Linked DNA regions of Homo sapiens: region 1 is linked to region 2. The links are contacts of gene promoters, found by promoter capture Hi-C in human tissues and cell types (Jung and others, 2019). All regions are on one chromosome and are shown on one strand. The core of a region is centred on a gene start or on the middle of the fragment in contact, and the rest is flanking DNA. Distances in the headings are between cores, read along the strand shown. Region 1 overlaps RANBP17 (RAN binding protein 17). Region 2 holds the start of TLX3 (T cell leukemia homeobox 3).

What was found. Contacts are between HindIII fragments. The study calls those that stand out against the background at their distance.
Region 1: a contact is called between a fragment that was not itself captured here and the fragment with the promoter of TLX3 in region 2, in 1 of the 25 tissues and cell types used here (thymus).

Annotation. Positions count from the first base shown.
Region 1 is chr5:171,266,933-171,270,711 of GRCh38, reverse strand. All of the region lies in intron 25 of RANBP17 (RAN binding protein 17), which reads right to left. Among named protein-coding and RNA genes, the nearest start is that of TLX3, 40 kb to the left of the region's middle. The HindIII fragment of the contact is 3,677 bases long and covers 295-3,779 here.
Region 2 is chr5:171,307,562-171,311,017 of GRCh38, reverse strand. TLX3 (T cell leukemia homeobox 3) reads right to left here and starts at 1,770. Exons shown (of 3, transcript NM_021025.4): 1 at 1,232-1,770; 2 at 625-868. The coding sequence starts at 1,652. RefSeq lists enhancers at 1-507, 508-1,392, 1,393-2,278, 2,279-3,163. The HindIII fragment of the contact is 20,402 bases long and covers 1-3,456 here.

The DNA.
Region 1 (3,779 bases), core at 884-3,383, 41 kb after region 2:
CTCTAATTCTATAAAACACACCCTTTCATTACCTAATTTGGGCAAAATCTTTCACTGTGATATAACGAAATGAATGCTATGTATCTATAACTATGTATTATAGATACAAATACTTACTGATCAGTGACGAAACTGAAAAAATTTCACATAGAAATGTTGTCTTCCGAATTATTGTAGCAGATCAGTGTCTTATCTGCTACTAATCAGTAGTAATTAGTAATCTGATCACTGTTACGGTTGGGCTCTCCTTAAATTTTTAGTTTATCCTTCTAATAACATAAAAATGCTTGGAGAATTTTCCACCTTCATTTCTGTAAACTGGGTTTTTCTCAACTGTTAGGTCAAAGCAACGCTGGTGACGCAATTGTTTTTACTTCAAATAGATTCACTTACTTACAATGGATCTTCATATGGACTAAATTTTAATGCTTGCAAAGTTAGAGTTGTTTGCAAAATATGAAAAATGGATTATTTGGAGAACATTTTTAAAAATTTTGAAGCTCTAAAGCCACATAGAAGAGAATAATAAACACAATTCCAGGTGGGAGGCACATAAAATATCTTTCCCAGGCTGCTATACACAAATGGAAAGGCCTGTAAGGATGTTGGAAAACCTTTATGTGGGGGTTCATGCTTCCTTTACTACGGAAGCTTGAGGAGATAACTTTTGCAATTTGGAATTAACATTCCTCATGCAATTATGCTTCCAGCAAAATAGGACCAGGTTGGGGGGAAAAACAGTTCAAACTAGTAAATAATTGCAGTATCATTGCATCAGTTTAGTTTAAAGAGCTGACAAACCCTCTCTAAACTCCAAGCACAATTAGTCATTAGGGTCTAGTTTTTCAGCACTGTTAAGCAATTTGTAATCCATTCCTTTTAATAGGGTTAGGCATTACTTAACCGACACAGATGCCTTGAAAACTGAAACCTCAAGTTATAAAGCAGCAACCTTGTTCATTACCTTCTGCAATAGGCAAATCATCTATTAAAAACAGCATTTAATGGGCAACCAATGAATAATCAATGGCTCACTTTTCATCTGAGTGTGAAAATGAAAATAATCCAATACAAAATCCCACTGGTAACAGGCTGAATCTTGGGTTCTGCTCCTCTTCAGGGCTGATTTATAAGGTCTTGGAAAGCTGATGTAAACAGATGATCAATGGGACCCATCCCTGCTAATAATAACCCCCAACTGGCCCACTCCCTCTTTTTCAAGTCCATCCCTTCAGGCTATTAGTTCTGTCCAGCTAATTCTTCCCACTACTCCTGCCTGCCGCTTTTACTCTGGCCATCCGTTCAGTCCAGCCGACTCAGAAGTAATTTTATACGCAGCAGAGAGCGGGTGGAATTGATTTTTCACTCAGCACTCTGTTCCCATCTGAATAATTATCAATTTTACTGCCTCATAAAGGGAAGAGTCAAAATTTCAAATCAATTCAAAAGAGCTTTTGAGACGACAGAAACTGTGCATAAGAATAGAGGTCAAAGTTGTCAGTAACCTAAGGAGATGATGTCAGATATTACTATACCTAATAGCTGACATCAGAGGCACTCAAGATGATATAACCTAGTGCTAATGCAAATCATATTTATGCTGACTACCAGAGCCCAGTCATTAATATTTAAAATGCTATCTGAAAGCCTACATTCCAAATAAATAGAAAGTATTCCACTGTTAATAAAGATATATCACTACTTAGTCATATGCTATAAAGTGAAGGATTAACAAGTATTATTAACACACAGAAATTACTTAAACCAACAAATGCACGCTAATTCTGAGTAAAGACAAACTTGATTTGTCTCCTGCCCAACCACATTACTTCCTTTGCAAAACATGATATGGTATTTTGTCTAGGGCCATAGCCTGTTGATTTGTGCTAAAATTTTCTACCAACTTAAAAGTTTCTGCCAAAGTTTATGGGACAATACTGTGATTATGGTTGAGTGCTGGAAGGAGTGATTTGGTGGCAGACTTGTCCCTTGCCATGGTGGGGTAAAGGCTGGGTCTGATTCCTAGCCAATCCATGAATTTTTTTTTTTTCTTCAGTGTGGACATGCTTTAAGTCAGTGATCCTCAACCTTCTTCATGCAAAACACATGAGGGCTGTGACACACTCCCACCAGTACCAGTGGTTACTGCATTTGGGTGGGGTGGGGAGGGAGGAGAGACGCGCTGACATTTTGATAGCATGTATATTTTGAAAAGCCATTCCAGGTGAAGCTGAGATATTATCCTCACCTTGAATACCAATGGTGTGAGTAGTAAGAACTTGCGCTTTTCAGTCAAACAGACCTTGCTTCAAATTCCAACTCTACCACTTTCCAGTTGATCTCTCTGTACCTCAATTTATTCATCTGTAAAATGGGGATGCTGATATCCATTTTTCAGGGTTGTTGTGGGGTCTAAATGAGGAGAACTCTTTGACAATACTCCCTCCCCTTGAATTTTACTTTCTTTGTCATCACTATATTAATGAAATGATCAAATAACTGGTGAGTTACTTGTCTCTTTGTCCCATGGCAAGAAATTTTGTAAGGAGAGAAATTATATCTCGTGAATCTTAATAGCTCTTGCACCTGACACATAATAAGTTCTCACTAAATGTGAGATACCTTCCTTTTTCCTTTATATTACCAACATGTTGTAACAGTTCCAGGGTCACACCAAATAATTATAAGTCTACAGCCCTTTGCCTAGTTACACAAAATATGAATGACATCCATTATCCCTGGAAAATAATTGGTTAACTGAAACATTACCACAAATAAAGTTTACATAATTTCATTTAAATATTAGCAAAAAATGGCAGCCAGGAAGGAACCTTCTTTCATAGCTGTCTCATTCTATTTTCATCATTTACTGATATAGAGTGACATTTTCTTTTTCTTTTTCTTTTTTTTTTGAGATGGAGCTCTGTCGCCAAGCTGGAGTGCAGTGGTGTGATCTCGCTCACTGCAACCTCTGCTTCCCAGGTTCAAGCAATTCTCCTGCCTCAGCCTCCCACATAGCTGGGAATACAGGCACACACCACCATGCCCAGCTAATTTTTGTATTTTTAGTAGAGACAGGGTTTCGCCATATTGGCCAGGCTGGTCTCGAACTCCTGACCTCATGATCCACCTGCCTTGGCCTCCCAAAGGTGCTGAGATTACAGGCGTGAGTCACTGCGCCCGGCCAACATTTTCTGATGATTGCAGGCAACTTATTTGCTCCCTAACGGTCATATAGCAACACACTATTGATGTGTTTACATTTGCAAATTACAAACTATTATGGATGTAATTTGGCAAAAGAAAACAACTGAAAACAGGATGAAGATACTTTCCAAATTTAGTGGAATTAGAAAACACAGTGATAGGGCTAGGTGCAGTGGCTCACACCTGTAATCCCAGCACCTTGGGAGGCTGAGGTGGGAGGACTGTTTGTGCTCAGGAGTTCAAAACTAGCCTACTAGCCTGGCAACGTGGCAAAACTCCTTCTCTCCAAAAAAAAAAAAAAAAATTAGCTGGATGTGGTGGTGTGCACCTGTAGTCCCAGCTACTCAGGAAGAGGCTGAAGTGTGAGGATCGCTTGAGACCTTGAGAGACAGAGGTTGCAGTGAGCCCAGATTGTGCCACTGCACTACAGCAAAGGCAACAGAGTGAGACCCTGTCTCAAAAAAAAAAAAAAAAAAAAGAAAAGAAAATATAGTGATGGTATAGCCATAAAAAATGGTATTGTTCTTTTTGAAATATTTTTGGCATGTATGTTTTTTTAAAAATTTTTAAAT
Region 2 (3,456 bases), core at 521-3,020:
GGCTCTGCACCACCCGCACGACGCCCGGGGGCTGGGTCAGTCTCATCCAGTTCGCCCAGGGCCTGTCTTGAACCCCTTTCCAGACGCGATCGCTTCGCCGTTTACGGGTTGAATCAAAACAGAGATCGGATAAAAACGCGGCTGGAATGGAGACGCGGAGATGGGGGGAGAGGAAACCGGCGTCCACGAGGATTGTTGAAAATCCGAGAGGGCGGGCTGGAAGAAGGAGGAGAAGGAGAGTGCGAGAGGCCCGTGTGTGTGCGCGTGTGTGTGTGTGTGTGTGTGCCTGTGTGTTTGGGGCGGGGGTGGGTGAGAGGAAATCAAGTGAACGCAGGAGACCGTACAAAACACGGGGAGAGAGTTGGAGGGGCTCACGAAAGATGGGGATGGGGATGGAGGAGAAACCAAGGCGTGGGAGACCACGATGGAGAGAGAAGCACAGGCCAGCGAGAAGGGTGAAAGGAAGAGGTACAATCTGCGAAGGCGGGGTGGGGGTGTGTTTGGGGGAGGCAGAGGGGGGCGGGGGTAGTGGATAGCCTTAAAATAGGGCTAGTGCGAGGCTGCGGCTCGGGGCGGGACAGGTGAAGGGCAGGTGTAAGGTGGGCCGGGTCAGGCCTCTCTCACCGCCACTTGGTCCTCCGGTTTTGGAACCAGGTCTTGACCTGCGCGTCCGTCATTTTGAGGGACTTGGCGAGCGCCGCCCTCTCGGCAGAGGCCAGGTACTTCTGGCGATGGAAGCGCTTTTCCAGCTCGCAGATCTGCACCCGGGAAAAGGACGTGCGCGGCTTCTTACGCTTGGGCGGCGTCCGGTTCTGGTAGGGGTGGCCGATGCGCCGGGTCACGGTGAAGGGCGTGAGTGCGGCCGCCGCTGCGGAGACACAGGAGGGCCCCTGAAGCCCAGCCCGGCTCCGCCACCGTTCAGGCCCCATGCGGACCCCGTGGCGCCCCGTGGGACACGGAGAGCTCCGCTATTTCGCTGGTCGCGCGCGTTTCCAGAGACACCAAGCCGGTCGGGAGACCCCCTCGCCCCCTGTCCCTTCCCCCGGGCACGGGCTTATTTTCCTGCAACTCTCCGATTACCCTCCCCACCACGGCTGCCCGGGGCCCTGGGGCCGAGGCCTCCGCCGCGCTTGGGCCTCTGAAATGGTTTCCGGGAGTGGAGCGCACAGGGCGCGGCGCCTCTGGCCCCGAGAGGGCGGAGGCCTGGAGCCTGGTCGCCAGCTCTGCTCACCTGTGAAGCGGTCTTTCACGAAGCGGCGGCTGCTCTCCATCCAGGGGAAATTGAGACCGCCAAGGCTGGAGACCGTGGGCACGGAGGGCATGGCGGGTAGCGCGCTTGGCAGAGGCGGTGGCACGGCCCCGGGCAGCGGCCTGTGCGCCGGCACCCGGATCACGCCTGCGGGCGCTAGGCTCAGGTTCACACTGTAAGATCCCGCGTCCTCGAAGGGCGCGCCGAGGCCCGCAAAGGAGGCGGGCAGAGACGGGTATGTGGCGCCCGGACGGCCCCCGGGGGGCCCTCCCAGGTAGCTGGCGCCGTCGGGGCCCCGCGGGGCGGGTGCGCTGTCCTGGTCCGGGCTGTTAAGGATCTGGTCGATGCCGAAGCTGATGGGCTCGTGCGGGTGCGGGGTCTGCGCGCTGGCGGGCGCCTCCATCCTGGGCGGGCGGAAGGGCTGGGCTGGGCTGGGCGGGGAGGCGGCTGGGTCCCCGTTACGGCGCGGCCATGGAGCGCCCGGCGCCTCTCGTCGCACTGAAACTTTGCCAAGAGTGCGCGGGCCCGACAGGCTCTGTGTCATCTTTCTTGAACCGAACCTGGAGTTTCCGCTGCTAATTCCTCTCCTGCCGCAGCCATTGGCTGCGATCAACAAGCCTCTCTCCTCTCATTGGCTCCCGGCTTTCAATAAAGGCCTAATTCATGGAAATAGGAGCTTAGGGACTGTTCCAAGGTGACATCATTTTAACAAACGAACAATAGGTCAAATTTATTAGCAGGGATAATGGGCGGCGGATATTAGAGCCCGAACCACAGCCTCCCAAACCCGAAATCTAACGAAGCTGCAATTAGCAGACGCTCCCCGCTCCTCCGGGCCGGGCCGCTTCCCAGACACCGCGCTGGGTGGGTAGAGCGCTCCGCTTGTGAAATTGTCTTTTGCTGAGTGGGTTTTCGTTTTCTTCCAATTTTTTTTTTTTTTCATCTGAGCAAAAGCCAAACCAAATGCATCCTTTCAGGTACAATGGAGTTGCAACCCCGGGACGACCCGGCGGAATCCGCAGAAGCCCCTTGGACGCTACCGCCGCCGGAGGAACGAAAGGGGCGCACTACCCGGGGCAGGCTTCGCGCTGCCTGCGCGCGGGGCGAGGGGAGCACCGTAGCGTTCTCCGCGCCCCGGATGACGCCGACCCGCGTGGGGAGAATTCGCCCCCGCCCGGGTTTCGGCCGCGGCCTCGCGGCCACTTTGGAGACACTCCCTGGCTCCGGCCAGGCGGACCGAGGCGTGACTCGCAGGTGCCCACGCGTGCCAGCTGCGGCTGGGCTAGGGACGCGGGGTCGCCCGGTGGGGAGCGGGGACCTGACTCTCGTAATTCGTTGCAGGATGGAAGGGGGCTGTGGTCGCGCGTGGGAACCCGCTCGCGGCTCGGCGGGTCTAGGGACTTCGGGTTCCTGAATGTCAAAGGCGCGGGCAGCTCCTAGAGCAAATTGCGGGATTTCTTTGGGAAACGCGACTGGTGAGCCCTTCCCGGCTCCAGTCCACTTTGGGCGCTGGAACCACTCCCCGTTCTGCTCGCGCCTCAGTGACTGTCTACCCGGCCCAGGGCACCGTGGACAGGACCGCACACGAAGTAGTCACCTTCCGCTGCAGCTTTGGGGAGACAAGCGGAATCATTTTCTTCCAGCGAATTCTAAAATCGTTAGGTGCAAACTCTTTGAGTGTCGCACCCCTGGCCTGGGTTCTTCCTCCCGCTCCTTGTGGTGTGGACAGTGGTGAGAGCTCGGATGTGCTGTTGTTGGCCAGAAGTGTGTTCAAATTTGGACTGGCCATTTCCTCGCTGAGTGACCTTGAGAAATTGACTCTATATATTTAGATTTCGGTTTTCTCGTTTGCAAAAAAGGAAAATAATGCATGCATGCGGGTTGTTCGTGAGCCGCGAGTGAGATATTGAGGGAGCGCAGAGCACTGGGCCTGGCACGTAGTAGGCACTGGGCAGCGTGGCTCACCTCCCACTCTATCCCCCCAGAGTAATGGCTGATGTATTATTGTTGTGACTCTTGTTTATTTTGTTGGCAGTTTAATTTTATTTGCAGGGGCTCAGTACGTTGGAGAGAAAGGTGTATTTGTCTACCAGTAGGGTCAGTTTCAGAGGACGGGGAAAGACAGGAGGTGCAGGTTGGGGATTCTTTCTCTCTTCTCCCAACAATCCAAAGGCGTCAGGATTTGCAGGGCCTCCAGGCCTGGGTCT